Linked DNA regions of Homo sapiens: region 1 is linked to region 2. The links are contacts of gene promoters, found by promoter capture Hi-C in human tissues and cell types (Jung and others, 2019). All regions are on one chromosome and are shown on one strand. The core of a region is centred on a gene start or on the middle of the fragment in contact, and the rest is flanking DNA. Distances in the headings are between cores, read along the strand shown.

Evidence for each region. Contacts are between HindIII fragments. The study calls those that stand out against the background at their distance.
Region 1: a fragment that was not itself captured here is called in contact with the fragment with the promoter of FOXD3 in region 2 in 1 of the 25 tissues and cell types used here (stomach).

The regions. Positions count from the first base shown.
Region 1 is chr1:62,963,262-62,968,266 of GRCh38, reverse strand. No RefSeq gene overlaps it. Among named protein-coding and RNA genes, the nearest start is that of LINC01739, 47 kb to the left of the region's middle. RefSeq lists an enhancer at 1,074-1,574. The HindIII fragment of the contact is 3,654 bases long and covers 1,554-5,005 here.
Region 2 is chr1:63,319,455-63,324,339 of GRCh38, reverse strand. It overlaps FOXD3 (forkhead box D3), which reads right to left and starts at 1,773. Exons shown (of 1, transcript NM_012183.3): 1 at 1-1,773. The coding sequence starts at 1,281. FOXD3-AS1 (FOXD3 antisense RNA 1) reads left to right here. Exons shown (of 3, transcript NR_121637.1): 2 at 2,877-2,973; 3 at 3,150-3,456. RefSeq lists an enhancer at 643-1,332 and silencers at 1,656-1,735, 1,856-2,165. The HindIII fragment of the contact is 29,021 bases long and covers 1-4,885 here.

The DNA.
Region 1 (5,005 bases), core at 2,131-4,630, 360 kb after region 2:
ACAGTGGCTGAACGGATTTACATTCCCACCAACACCGTATGTACGAGCGTTCCCTTTTCTCCACAGCCTGGCTAGCATCTGTTGTTTTTTGACTTTTTAATAATGTCCATTCTGACTGGTGTGAGATGGTATCTTGTTGTGGTTTTGATTTGCATTTCTCTGATGATTAGTGATGTGGAATATTTTTCCATATATTTTTGGCCTCTCATCAAACATTTATTAAGCTCCTACTGTGTGCTAAGTTCTGTAGTAGACACTAGAAATACCAAAATAATATGGCAAGAAGTTCAATCAAGGGTGTAAACAGACACATACACACAAGAGGTATGAAACAATGTGAGAGTGTTATATCTTGGAAGGGTCCCAGGCTCTAGGAGCAGGGAGGAAAGAGGGCTTCACCTCCCTGGGGTTCACCACAGAGGCCAGAAGCTTGGAGTCCAGTGGGTGGGTTGAGTTCTCTGTGAAAGGGAAGATGGCGTTCTGGGCACAGAGATTTGATGAGGGAAGTAGGGGGTACATGAAGGGCTGGGGGCCTGGATAGGTGACTTGGAAAAGCTGACCAGTGTGACTCCTCCATATGGGGAGTGAGGAAGTACCAGTCAGCTTCCTGCTGCAGAGATGACCCCGGGCCGGCACAGTGGACGAGGGGTTGCTTGGGATCCTCGTTCTTATTCCTCCCCTCCTTTCTGCACATCCTCTCTGAGTCGTGGCCCAATTGCCTTCTTTTCCTAGGAGACAGTTTCTCTTTCAGGCTCACACTGCCCCAAATGCCATCTCTCTTCAATCCAGGAGTGGCCCACTCTGAGCACCGGTATCGTCCACGCCCCCATGTGGGCCTGGGATGCAGATCCTCCCCTTTTGGGTCACGGCCATGAGAAGCAGCCTTGGAAGGCTACCCTGGAAGGCTCCCACTCAGGGACACCAGTTCACAGGAAGGCTACTGCACCCATCAGAGAGTGGAGATGCAGCTGTAGGGTATAGGGTAGCGGGCCTTGAGGACCCGCCGGGCGGCTGCCTGGAGCTGGAAGGAGGCTCACTTACAGAGCCTGTCATCCTGGTTCAGGACGCTGGGGCAGATGCTGGGGCCCGCTAGCCGCTCTCCTGGGCCATCGTCCCACTGGGGGGATTAGCTGAAGGATACAAGTGGCGTGGAGCCAGTCCTGGGATCCCCAGGCCCCCTTCCAACTCTTGATGATCCATATGAAAAGGTGGCAGTGACTCAGGGAAGGTGGGTGATGCTGTGAGGGAAATGAGCCATTTACAAAACGAAGGTCTCCCCGCAGGCGGAGGCCAAGCCACAGAGGAGAACGAATCCCTCTTTGCTTCATGGACATGGCTCTTTCTCTGAACAATCTGTGCTCCGGACCAGGACATTCCTGTTAGCGGTGTCCTGTGGGACCCTAGTTGTCCCACATTTACGCCTGTGGGCCTTGCTGCTGGGGATGACACAGTCTGCTTACCAGGGACCTGACCCAGAGAGGTACAAGAGGACAGTCGTCTACACAGGGCCCCTCTTTGCACGAGGCCACACTTTAAGGGTAAGAGCAATAACAGCTCTCAATTTATTAAGCATTTGAGGTGAGGCATCTGCTAGGCCATTTACATGTTCAGTCATTCCTCTGTATCCCCAGGGGATTGGTTCAAGAACCCCAGGGATACCAAGATATAGATGCTCAAGTCCCCAATATCAAATGGTATAGTATTTGCATGTAACCTACATGCTTCCTCCCATATATTAAATCATCTCTGGCTGGGCGCGGTGGCTCATGCCTGTAATCCCAGCACTTTGGGATGCTGAGGCGGGCAGATCACCTGAGGTCAGGAATTCAAGACCAGCCTGACAAACATGGAGAAACCCCATCTCTACTAAAAATACAAAATTAGCCAGGCGTGGTAGTGCATGCCTGTAATCCCAGTAATTCGGGAGGCTGAGGCAGGAGAATCCCTTGAACCTGGGAGGCGGAGGTTGCAGTGAGCCAAGATCGTGCCATTGCACTCCAGCCTGGGCAACAAGAGCGAAACTCCTTCTCAAAAAAAAAAAAAAATCATCTCTAGATTTCTAATAATACCTATTACAACGTAAATACTATGTAAATAGCTGCTACATTGTTTTTAAAATTTGTATTAATTTTTGTTGTTGTATTATTATTTGTTCCTTTTTTCTGAATATTTTTCATCAGCAGGTAGTTGAATCCATGGATCTGAAACGTACAGATACAGAGGACCAACTGTATGCTTTCTAATCTTTATAACTGAGGCTCATGACTGGGAAATGGAAGGGGAGGATCCAAATTCAGACCCATGTGACTGGCATACTCCATCCATTGTGTGACACCTTTCTCCTTTCTCCGAGAAAGATAGGGAAAGAGCTAGAGACAATCTGGTGGCCTTTGATACCCCCTTTGATAGAATGTGGGCCTGGGCTCACATGGTGTCAGGTGCTTACCCCATTCTATCCATTCTTGCCGCATGGTCTGATGGGAAGAATGCAGGGGATACACCATGTTGAAGGGCCCAGGGTTTAGCTTCTGTCCCCACCAGTGAAATGTGCAACCCTGGGCAAACATAGTGTCAACTGTAAAATCAGGATAATAATACCTACTCAATTTATGTCAAAACAGAAGGAATGAGTTTACAAACGATGCTCCCTGGAAGCCTAGGATGGAGTTTCTCAAGCTTCGGAATGCATAAAAACCACCTTGTGTGGGCTTGTTAAAATGCAGATGCCCAGGCCTCAACTCCGAGATTGGAATCAGCGGGGCAATATGAAGCCACGGAATCTGCATTCTGTGGATGAGAGACAGCAGGTGTGGAGAAGCCCGGACCTAGGCTGCATGGCGGCGCCTCCAGGGTGGGTGGGAAGCGAGGGAGTCCATGGGTGGGATTCAGAGTCTCTCAGCCCAGCTTCACCTAGAACTGTTCTGTTTGTAGCTCCATTATATATTGAGGTTTCAAGTAAGATTTCATTTAAAGGACGATTACATGATTTAAACATTAAAAAAAAATGTTAAAGATTGCAATGCATCGCCACACATGAAAATGCTTTGGGTAAGTGAAAGGTGCTCTCCAGATGAGAGCAATTTTACTAAAACTGTGGCCATCTGAAACCCTCTGGGAATGAATCATTCTGGAGAGCCTAATCTTCCTGATAACATTAAAACTTTTTATTAAATGTTAATCGTTTTGTGGGAAATATGTTACACTCTTCCTTGCCTTTTAAAAGAGAGAATAAAGAACATAATTTAACTGTTGTTTGAAAACTCAGGACCACCAATTGGATACTGTGAGGCCATCCCAAAAGTGAGTCCTGCCAAGCTTGACATGGAAAGTGCATCCATGGGATTCCACTATTCGTGTCCCCTACTCAGGCCACGGTTTATATAACACCAAGTGGAGGCAGAGCAATGTGGTGAAAACAGGGGGCACTGGAGAATCAGGAGGATGAGCTCCAGCCTCCACAGTGGCAACCGAGGGCCACAGAACCCAGAGGAAGTCCTCTCGCCTGGCCCTGCTTTCTTTATCCATAAGGCAAGAGGCTAAACCAAGCCGTCACCTGAAGAGGGGTCCAGTCTCTAAGGTGGGGGTTGCAAACTCCATGGCTGTCAGGGGCCAGGCTGGTGGTGCTTGGGGAGAATGGGAGAGCAAAAGCCCAGCTGGGGCGCAGCCACCGCTTCACACCAGCAGACTGCCGATGTGAGAGTGACAGCCCACTGCTATCAGGTCTTCTAAGTTGCCCAGAAAAGCTGGACTTTCTTGTGAAAGCTCTGGATTCCTTCCATGTTGGCACCTGTGAAGGATATGGGGGTGCTGGCTCCCACATTCCCCCTCTTTTTCTGGGTGGCCTTTTGTCCTTCAGAGACCACAACATCAAATACCACATTTCTCATTTCCTTACAGCTAGGGTTTTGGATGCAAATCAGTTTGCGTCAATGAGAGTAAGTCATAGTTTTGAAAGGCAACGTAAGGCAGAAGCTGTCTTCTGACTCCCTATCCAGAGCCTGAGCTGCCAGGAAGTGTGGGAAACACAGGTCAAATAAAACCCATCTGTGGGCACCACTGAGCCCGAGGTCTCTTCTGGCTCTAACACTTGTAAGACAGGGGAGTAGCAGGGTAGACAGCCCTCAGGTGGCTGACCTGCAAGGGGCCACCTACACCCACTGGGTCTTTTTCTTCAAATGCCTCTTCAGCCTCCAACTCCACCCCTGAGGGGCACGTGTTTGTTCACTGACCCAGTAGAATCCAAGCTCTGGCGTTCTCGCCTGGACTCCATTGCCCAACTTTTTCCCATAAGGAGGATTAAGGACACACGATTCTGTTTCCCAAAACAGGACAGAGATTGCGACCCTTCGGGCAGGGTCCTGCCAGGGCAGTTGGCATATGGAGTCCCTGCAGCTTTCTCCATCCCTTTCAGCATGTTCCAAAGGGAGCAGCTGGGGGCTTCGTACCAAGGGCTCAAGTTTCCAACCCTGTTACTCTTAAGCTGCCCAAACCGAATTGTATCTGCCTAAGTGGTATGTGGGTAGGGAGGATTTAGGCATGTTTGTGGGGACAAATTTCATGAGCACCCTTTTTGCACATAATAGCTGTTACTTACCAAGGACCCACTGTGTGCCATTTCTAATCCTCACAACCACCCTGAGGGGCAGACATCACTGCCTCCATTTTACAGATGAGGTAACTGAGGCTTGCAAAGGTTAGTGACTTCTCTAGGGTCCCACAGATAGTAAGTGTCAGAGCCAGAATTCAAAGGCAAACTCCTTCTCTTTATTGTTCTTGATGAACCAGGGCTGGGTTACTCTTGGACCCAGAGCAAGCAGATTCTTTTCAAAGGCGTCCAGGCCCCTGGGTGAGCCTGCCAGTGAGTTAGGTAATGTGATCCTGCCTCCTAGTGGTCAGGTCGGTGGCTCAGTTCCTCACACTAGGGCAGGAAGCCTCTCCCGTCTCCCGCCGTCCCAGGGGTCCTGGCAGCTGGTTATTTCAAGAAGTGGGCTTGGCCACTCTGGGA
Region 2 (4,885 bases), core at 524-3,023:
CGCTGCCGACTGCACGGTCCCGGGTGGCCGCAGAAACGACTGCGCCGTGCTGCCGCCCCCTGAACCCCCAGTGCCGCCGGCGACCCCAGCGCCCACCGCCGAGCCCCCAGGAGCCGCGGGGCCCCCACCTATGATGTTCTCGATGCTGAACGACGGCCGCGCGCTTGGCTCGGACTTGATGAGCGACGCGGTGGTGCCCGCGGCGCCCGCTGTGCCCGCAGCGGCCGCGGCGGCGCCCAGGCTATTGAGCTGCAGCTGCAGGCCCGGGCCGAGCTGTGAGCCGAAGGCGGCCGCTTTGCGGCCCAGCTCGCCCGAGGGCAGCAGCGGCACAGCGGGAGGCAGCACCGGTGCCACCGGCGGCAGCGCGTACGGGTACTGGAGCGCCGCCGCAGCAGCCGCGGCCGCCGCCGCTGCCGGGTGCGAATAGGCACCGGCCGCCGCCGCAGGGTGCAGGCCGTAGGGGCGGCCGTAGGGTCCCGCGGCGCCGGCCGCCGCCGCCAGGCTGTAAGCGCCGAAGCTCTGCATCATGAGCGCCGTCTGCTCGCGCAGGTGCTCCTGCTGGTGGCGCTTGAAGCGTTTCCGGCGCCGCAGGAAGCTGCCGTTGTCGAACATGTCCTCGGACTGCGGGTCCAGGGTCCAGTAGTTGCCCTTGCCCGGGTTGCCCGGCTCGCGGGGGATCTTGACGAAGCAGTCGTTGAGTGAGAGGTTGTGGCGGATGCTGTTCTGCCAGGCGGGGAACTTCTCCCTGTAGTAGGGGAAGCGGTTGCTGATGAACTCGCAGATGCCGCTCAGGGTCAGCTTCTTCTGCGGGCTCTGCAGGATGGCCATGGTGATGAGCGCGATGTACGAGTAAGGCGGCTTCACTAGGCTGTTCTTGGGCTTGCTCGGGGCCAGGCCTCCCGCCGAACCGCTGCCCGCGCCAGGCCCGCCGCCGCTCGCGCCGCCCTCCTCGCCGCCAACACCGCCCTTGCAGCCGTCCGCCTCCGGCGCGCCCACGTCGCCCCCCGGTCCGGCCCCGGCTCCGGCCGCCTCCTTGGGCAATGTCAGGGGCTGCTGGTGGGGCGGCTGAGGCTGTCCGTGATGGGGTGCCGCCGGGGGCACCTCGTCCGCCTCGTCCAGGCGCAGCTCCGGCGGCCCCGCGGGGCTATCGCAACCTGCGTCGCTGTCCTTCTCTTCCAGCCCGTCGTCGCCCTCGCCCACCACATCGATGTCCACGTCCTCGGCCGTCAGCACCGTCTGGCCGGACATGTCGCTGGCGCTGCCGCCGCCGGAGAGGGTCATCCCTCCTCGGGGTTGGTAGCGGCGGCGGGGAGGGGGCAGCGGGCGATGAGGGTGTTCGGGGGCTGCCACGGAGCTCAGGGGAAGAGGGTTTGAGTGCCCCCGAAAGATGGGGGGCAGGGAGAGGGGAGGGGGCCGCAGGTGGCTTGGGGCCCGCTGGGCTCAGCTCACACTCGGCGGCCCCGCATCGCGTGGCGCGGGCTCTGCCGTCCGCCCCCAGCGGCCGCGCTCCGCGAACTCCTGCCGTCCCTGGCGCTCGGTACTAGGCGCTCGCTACCGCTCCCGGCCCCGGCGGTTCTCCACGCCGCGCCCCCTCACTTAGCCCGCCTTCCTCGGCCTCTGGCCCTGGCGTGGGGCGCAGGAGCGGTCCAGGCGGGCGCGGGACGCCGGGCGCCGAGCAGCTCGGGAGGGCGCGGGCAGGGACAGTAGCGGGGGGGCAGGGGGCTGGGTGTCAGGGACGCCGAAGCCCCGGTAGTCGAAAGTCCCGTTTTAAGGACTGGCCTGATAGATTACTTTCTACTTAAAGATCCAGCGGGAGGCGGGGCCACGTGACCGTGCGTGACGTCAGGGCCGCGGCCGAGCCGGCCAAACTCAAGTTGGTTCAGGGAATTGTCAACAAAGGGACGAGAGACGCGCAACTCCGCTCCGCACTGTGCGCCAGCATCCCCGGGGCACGGAGGGCGCTGCGGCCCGCCCGGAGACCCCCCCACCCAGGCTGGATCCGGGCCCTGGGGCCCAGGGAGCGGGTGGGTGTGAGTGTGGGTGGGTGTGAGCGAGTCAGGGCGTGGGCCTGGGAGCGTCCGCGGGACTGTGCGACTGTCGCTGCCCTGCCTTCCCCGCCCCCTCTCCCTTCCGCCCTTCTCCCCCCCACTTTGTCACACTCCTTAGACAGGGACTGGGCGACCTAGAACGAGGTTCCCATATCGTGTTTTAAAAAGCAAAACTTAGTCTCTGTTTTGCTTTTTGTTTCATTGTTTTTAGCTTTAAAGAGTAAGAGCAGCGCACCCGGCTCCCTCCTGCTAATTAGATTTCAGATTCCCCTCTGGCCTCAGTGCTCATTCCGGGGAAGACACCTGCTGAGATGTCTTTTTCCCCCTCCCCCAACCAAACCACTCAGGTCCTACCTGCTCTTTCCCGGCTTGATGCGGGCGTGTTTTCCTGTATGTATTTTTTCGTGCGGCCACAAAAAGCATCAGCTGGGGTTCCCGAAGGTCAGAAAATGGCTATTGATTAATCTACTAGAATAGTTGCCGAGAGAAATAAAAACGACGTAAAATAGCAGGGAACCTATAAATAAAGAAGCCATAACTGGCTACTTGGAGTTGTTAAACGACTTAGCATATGAAAAAATCGGAAATGAGGCGCTGGGGAAGGAGCTGGGATTGGCAGCGGCCTGGGTAAGTCGAGTGGATCCGGGAAGAGGCCTGGTGTCTTCAGGTTAGACGCAGCGCCCAGGGGCGGCTGAAGAAACGTGAGGGGTGCGGGCAGTGACTTCCCGGGCGGCGGGCATGGCCTTGGGGGAACCTGGGCAGACTTGGGCATGCCAGCATGCTGGGATCTCCGTTGCTGCCAGCTAACGTGGATTTTCTTCTCTTAAGGTGTGGACAAATCCTCCAAGATTTAACTTCCAAGAAAACCGGCGGCGGAGCGGGTGGAGGAGGCGAGGATGTGTGGCCAATGCACGCGGAGTGCAAGGCAAGTCAGTGATAGTAGGAAAAACTGTGGGGATTTCACTGGGACTGGAGGGGGAGGCACCGCAAACCGACCCCCAAGTGCGTGGCTGGGGTGCGTGGACCTCACACCTCCAAGGAAAGTCAGTGCTCTTGACGCGGTGAATCAGCGATGCGCCTCCTCTTTCCTCCCTCATTTAGGCCGCCTAGTTGGGAGCCGCAAGAGCCTGCCTGGTGTGGCAGGCACACGGAACCCAATCCCTGTCTGTCCGCTGCGGCCTGGGAGGGGAGCGCCGGCCTCACCAGAGGAAGGAGCACGAGGGGAGGAGTTCCGAGAGGAAATAATTAGTGAAATATTTGCAGAAGATGCTGGGATGTGGATTTAATTCCGGATGGACAGTGGTGCTTCTGATTCCCTCAGTCTGTTTCCCCACCCACGATCTCCTCTTTCCTTGGCCTAGACACACCAAAAATAATTCAATAAAATAAAAATAAAAATTTAAAAATCTGTAAACTTGCTTCATTACAGGCATTGAGACACACAGATTGACTTTCATCCCCATTAGACAGTTTCCCAGGATATAACACTACTCATCTGAGGCTGGGAGCAGGGTAGGGGGTGGTGACACTATCCTGAGACGCCCGCCAACCTCCACAGTTTTTCTTTATCTAAATGATCCCGAGGTTGCACACGGCCCTAAAACGCATCTCAGAGTTGATTTCCGTAGCTCCACAGCTTTGTGGCCCGCAGGCTCCGAACCGTTTACAATGCCGTCTAGACAGCTTTCCGCGAAACCGACCCGAGCTGAGCTGGCTGGCCATCGCCCAGGACTGCAGAGGTCGCGTCTGCAACTGCCTCAGCAACCGAAGTGTCGGAAGGTCCAAAAAAAAAAAAAAAAAAAGCTAAAAAGCGGAAATTTACACATTCAGGAACCTCCTTTGCTCTGCTTGGGTTGCCCAGCCCTAAAGGCAGGGGCCCGGGGCGCAGCGCTGGCCCTGCCGCGGCCTTGGTGGCTGGGCCCGCGTGGACTAGTATGTGTGGATGCGCGCCGGAGGATGGTGGCTACAGGGCTCCCCTCACCGGTCTCGAAGTAGTCTCCAAATGAGCCTAATTTCGATTCCGCCGTCCGCAGAGGCTAGCTCTCTGGACTCCCTCCACGCTGCTGGTCGCTGCCTCCTACCCTCCCTCTGCCACGGCCCAGCCTGATCCGTCCATTCCCCGGTGTCTCCTTGGAACCTCCCTGGGGAAGGGGGTGGAGGACGAACAACTCCCAGCTGCCGGTTCCATTTGTTGCGCTTTTTTCCTTCGACACAATAAAAGTCAAATTAATTGATTCATACCATTAATTACGGCGCGTAGCGTGAAAAGCAACGCTTCCCCTCGGTTAGAGATCTATTGTGCTAATCTCTTGTTCAATCAGTGTTACCATCTGATGCTGGGTCCGGCCCTTACAGAAACTTTTCGACTCGATTAGCTAAATGATGAGACGTGCACAACCTACTGGCTGCGGCCCCGACGTCCCGCGCCCGCGCCGGCCTAATATCGATTTCCAGCGGAGGCAGAGGATTTTTCCGCGGCCGCTCTCGGCTCAGGAACCGGCCGCCGGCTTTCTCCCTCCAGGCGGACCATAGCGCCTGCACAACCTCCGGGGGCGGGAAGGAGGCGAAGCGGCGGCCGGGGAGGGCGACAGGAAGGTTCCTGCTGGCCTTGACGCAGGAGGCCGCCCCAGCGGAAGGGTCCGATCCCGACGCGGTGCAGGGTCCTGCCGGAGACCGGCTAGATGTCGGGCTAAATAAATTGTTTGCCGCGTAGTTGCAGTTTGCAGCTAAAAGCTCACAGGTCGTCAGTTACCGCCAAGCTGTAGGACAGAGACGGAAGAAGCGAGACAGATACAGAGAGAAAGTGAGACACATGTAGTGGGGGGAAGAAAATGTGA